Regions from separate parts of the Homo sapiens genome. Here region 2 is linked to region 1. The links are contacts of gene promoters, found by promoter capture Hi-C in blood cells and fetal thymus (Javierre and others, 2016). All regions are on one chromosome and are shown on one strand. The core of a region is centred on a gene start or on the middle of the fragment in contact, and the rest is flanking DNA. Distances in the headings are between cores, read along the strand shown.

What was found. The method cuts DNA at HindIII sites, captures the fragments that hold promoters and counts their contacts. A CHiCAGO score of 5 or more calls a contact.
Region 2: a contact is called between a fragment that was not itself captured here and the fragment with the promoter of GBP7 in region 1, in 1 of 17 cell types (activated CD4 T cells). The highest score is 8.3, in activated CD4 T cells.

What each region holds. Positions count from the first base shown.
Region 1 is chr1:89,174,615-89,177,314 of GRCh38, forward strand. GBP7 (guanylate binding protein 7) reads right to left here and starts at 1,389. Exons shown (of 11, transcript NM_207398.3): 1 at 1,307-1,389. The region is part of intron 3 of LOC105378842 (a long non-coding RNA gene); the gene reads left to right. The HindIII fragment of the contact is 1,918 bases long and covers 1-1,760 here.
Region 2 is chr1:89,136,373-89,139,072 of GRCh38, forward strand. The region is part of intron 9 of GBP7 (guanylate binding protein 7); the gene reads right to left. All of the region lies in intron 1 of LOC105378842 (a long non-coding RNA gene), which reads left to right. Among named protein-coding and RNA genes, the nearest start is that of GBP2, 12 kb to the left of the region's middle. The HindIII fragment of the contact is 8,826 bases long and covers 1-2,700 here.

The DNA of each region.
Region 1 (2,700 bases), core at 139-2,638:
TTTCTTGCAAGCCCCTCTGTGGGCAGGGTCTGGTCAGACTGTGGGACTCAGGTTACCCAATGGCTTCCTCCTCTCACTGTGCATCAGCATTCACACGTTATTCATGCAAGCCTGATAGCTCGCACCTGACACTTACTCTGTTGATTTTTGACTTGATTATGTTAACAGATTTTGAATTCTCTGCATTTGAAGATTGATTCTTTATTACCTCCATGTATATCAGTCTGCATATTGTTTTTAATTATTTCATGTAATGAAGTCACAGCATGAAACATTCTTTGAAAAACCATGGCTTGTTTTTTGTCTGATCTCTGCTGTATAGAGAGTAGCATATGCACAATTGTAATCATGCTATCTTTATCCAGGGCTTGATAAATTAAATATTTTGATAATTTTGTAAAGTTAAAAGGAGTGAAAAGCCTTCTTGTAGTGATGCTTTAATTTTGTGTTTTTAAGTTGAATGTCTCAATCCTTGTAACTTATGTGATCATGATACAAAATATATAATCTCTTTAAGATACAAGCAAATATAGATGATAGATACTGCAGTTTTCTTTTTTATCCTATAATAAAGAGTGGTTTGTTTCCACTATAGAGTTGGTTACTTCTGACTTGTTCCTCTGGAGGTTTATATTAAATTATCTGGCTTCCCATCACTTCAGCAGAAGATGGAAAAAAAGCCGTTTATTTTTCTGTGATCATGACCCATTTCCTCTTATAGCAATGGCCTACAGGATCTGCTGGCAAGCAAGAAGGGCAAACCAGAAACTAAAAAGATTGGGTATCTATGGAAGATGAGTGAAAACAGAGTATGCGTCTGTCCAATTCTGTAGCATATACTATGCTACCATAACATAGGAATCAATCAGTCACCGGCTCAGAAAGGTGGTGGCACAAAGATGTTATAAGGTCCTGGATTATAATAATGTGTTGCCTCTTTTTGCAGATCCCAAGTTGCCTACCTTCATTTACCTAGAGCTATAAATGTTGGGCCCAATAAAGAAAGTGACAGAGCCTATTAGGCAGATATTTAAAGATAACAGTAATTTAAGATGGTGTCAGAAAAGAAATAACAATCTTAGAACACTGGCTTCTCTGAATATCTGTTCCACCTCTGCTGAAGCCTAATCTGACACAGCAGGAATTAGAGCACACTAAGGTACACACAGCCACCTAAGAGGCCAGGATTTCATCTGGACTTGTATCCTGTAGCTGGCTCAGCTGCAGCCTATCTTGGGGATGGTCAACTTAGAGAAAACTAATGGATCCTTATAAATCATGAAATCCTTATAAGTCATAGTCTTACCCAGAGTAGAGATCCTCTGGACTTGGTAAGAAGGCAGCTTCAATGAGAAAGTTATGAGTCTTTATTCTCTTCTCTTTAGTTCTGAATTTGGCTGCACTGATTTCTCCCACTTTTTTTCTTGCTGGAACTTTGGACTTTTACCTTACCTCTCCAATGTCATGGGGCTTTCCAGACTTTCTAGAGACCTGTATTTATACATGTAAAAAACAATGCAACCTCTGCAAATAAATAGAGTAATATGACAGTCCATGATTTAGCAACAATAAAAGAAATTGCTGACAGCTGTGCTAGTGAGAGGATTTGACATAATTTCTCAAACAGAATCTTCCAATTTTATTATTGGAAGAGATCTTAGAGACAGCTTGCGATTATTAAAAAAACTTCAATGAATCGTTTAAAATAATGACATTCATCTCATGTTTGTGGGCCACATTGAGAAGTACAGGAATAAGAAAGCTTAATATAATATTATTTAGGTTCAATTGGCTTGAATATTAGACTCTTAAAATGGAACTCATTATTTGTGTTTAATAATGAGGACTCTAAATGCCCTGAAGGAATGTCCACGTCTTATACATGTTTGAATTATTAGCACCTAACTCAGGTCTTGGCACTTAACATTTAATAAATAATAATGAAGATAGTACCCGTTTTGTTTACATAGATTATCCCATTGTATTCTTATCACAAATACTTTTACCACAATGTTAAAAGAGGGATTTAATAATTTATTACAATTACAGAGCTACTAAATAAGATTTGGGCCCAAGAAGTCTTGCTGTCAGTCACTTCATTAAAATACCTCTGTGTTTGCTGAGTGTACAATAACAATGTTTTCTCCTTATCAGTTCCATTCTAGGCCATATTCTTTACACATACCATTTTAAATATCAAAATACCTCAAGATAAAGGTTGTTTATTATCCCCATTGTCCAAGGGGGAAAAATAATCAGAAAACGGGTAATTAATATGTCTAACTAAAGCCATTGAGCTACACACCAAGGTAGCAAGTAATTGAGCGAGATTCAAACTTGAAAATCCATTTGGTTAAAACCACATTGATTCTCTACTGCACATTGTCTCTAAAAGAGAGGAAGGTGGGAAGCGGGGAAGAGAGAGAGAGAAATGGAGAGCAGAGAGTAAGACTTCTCTGTGTGTGTGTGAATATTGATGAGATTTAAAGTGAAAGTAAGGCAGGGTTATTTCAAAACAGAACTATTGCTAGGAAATCACCTGCTTCTAAGTAATAAAATCTATTGTTTATATCATGCAAACAAAAAATAGCCCCAGGCAAAATTGAATCTTTGTGAATCATGTATAATTTAAGGGTACATAAATTTATAAGAAAAAAAGATCCCACTTTCCCAACTTGTGTTTTTTTTTTTTGAGACAGA
Region 2 (2,700 bases), core at 31-2,530, 38 kb before region 1:
GCACATGGCACATACTCTAAAATTGACTCCTTGCTCTGCCATAAAGCAATTCTCAACAAATAAAAAAAAAACCCAAATCATACCAATGCTGTCAGACCACAATGCTGTAAAAATAGAAATCAATACAAAGAATATCTCTCAAAGCTATACAATTACATGAAAATTAATTAATCTGCTTCTGAATGATTTTGGGGTAAACAGTGAATTTAAGGCAGAAATAAATTATTTGAAATTAATGAAAACAAAGATACAACCTACCAGAATCTTTGAGACACAACTAGAGCAGTGTTAAGAGGAATGTTAATAGCACTAAACGACTACAGTAGAAAGTTAGAAATATCTCAAATTAACAATCTAACATTACACCTTGAGGAACTAGAAAAACAAAAGTGAACCAAGCACAAAGCTAGCTGAGACAAGAAATAACCAAAATCAGACTTGAAGTGAATAAAGTGGAGACAAGAAAAACCATACAAAAGATCAATGAAACCAATGGTTCTCTGGAAAAATACATAAGATGGATATACTTCTAGTTAGACTAAAAAAGAACAAAAAAAGAGAAGATCCAAATAAACACAATAAAAAAATGGCAAAAGGGACATTGCTATCAACTCCACAGAAATACAAAAAATCCTGAGAGACTATTATGAACACCACTATGCACACTAACTAAGAAACCTAGAAGAAATGGATAAATTCCTGGAAACATACAACCTACCAAAAGTGAACCAGGAAGAAATTGAAACCTGGAACAGACTAATAACAAGTTCCAAAATTGGGTCAGCATTAAAAAGCCTACCAAGCAGAAAAAGCCCTAGACCAGACAGAGTCATAGTCAGTTCTGCCATACATAGAAAGAAGAGCTGGTACCAATTCTACTAAACTATTCCAAAAAAAATGGGGAGCAGGGAATCTTTCCTAATACATTCTATGAGGCCAGCATCATTCTGATTTTAAAAACCTGGCAGAGACACAACAAAAAAAGAAAAATGCAGGACAATATTCCTGATGAACATGGATGAAAAAATCTTCAACAAAATACTAGCAAACCAAATCCAGCAGCACATTAAAAAGCGAACCCACCACTGTCAATTAGGCTTTATTCCTGGAATGCAAGGTTGATTCAGCATATGCTAATAATAAATTGATTCCTCACACAAACGGGACTCAGAACAAAAACCAGATGATCTTCTCAATGGGCACAGAAAAGGCTTTTGATAAAATTCAATATTTCATGTTAAAATATCTCAACAAACTGGGCCTCAAAGGAACATACCTCAAAATAATAAAAGCCATCTATGAAAAACCCACAGCCAACATCATACTGAATGTGAAAAAGCTGGAAACATTTCACTTGAGAACCAAAAACAGACAAGGATGCCCACTCTCAACAACTCTTATTCAACATAGTACTGGAAGTCCTAGCCAGAGAAATCAGGCAAAGGGGAAAAAAAAAGTTATCCAATAGGAAGAGAGGAAGTCAAACTCTCTCTCTTCATAGACAATAGAATTCTGTAGTTAGAAAACTCCATAATTTCTGCCCAAAGTCTCATCCATCTGATAAACATCAGCAAAGTTTCAGGATAAAAAAGTAAATGTACAAAAATAAGTAGCATTTCTACACACCAATAATGTCCAAGCTGAAAGTCAAACCGAGAACACAATCCTATTCACAATAGCTATTGTGAATAACCAAGAATAAAATACCTAGGTTTACAGCCAATCAGGGAGGTGAAGCATCTCTACAATGAGAATTATAAAACACTGCTGAAAGAAATCTGAGACTGCACAAACAAATGGAAAATTATTTCATGCATATGGATAGGAAGAATCAATGTTGTTAAAATAGCCATACTGCCCAAATTGATTTACATATTCAATGCTATTCCTATCAAATTATCGATGACTTTTTAAAAATAGAATTAGTAAAAACTATTCTAACATCCACATGGAACAACAACAACAAAAAAACCCCGAGTAGCCAAGGCACTCCTAAGCAAAAAGAACAAAGCCAGAGACATCACATGACTTGAGTTTAAACTATATTACAAGACTACAATAACCAAAATAGCATGGTGCTGGTCAAAAAACAAAACAAAACAAAACAGACACATGAACAAATGGAAAAGTTTAAAGAAAGCAGAAATAATACCACACACCTACAACTATCTGATCTTTGGTAAAGCTAACAAAAAAAGCAATGGAGAAAGAATGCATTATTCAATAAATGGTGCTGGGTTAACTGGCTAGCTATATGCAGAAGATTGAAACTGGACCCCTTCTTCTCACTATATACAAAAATCAACTCAAGATGAGTTAAAGATGTAAATGTAAAATTTAAAACTATAAAACCACCAAAAGAAAACCTAGGAAATACCATTCTGGACATAGGCACTGGCAAAGATTTCCTGATGAAAACTTCAAAAGCCACTGCAACCGAACAAAAAGTTAACAAGAGGGACCTAATTCAACTAAAGAGTTCATGCACAACAAAGGAAACTATAAACAGAGTAAACAGACAACCTACAGAATGGGAGAAAATATCTGCAAACTATGCATCTGAAAAAAGTCTAATATCCAGAATCTATAAGGAAGTTAAAGAAATTAAGAACAAAGCAAACAACCCCATTAAAAAATGGGCAATGGACATTAACAGACATTTATCCAAGAAGACATACACATGGCCAGCAAGCATATGAA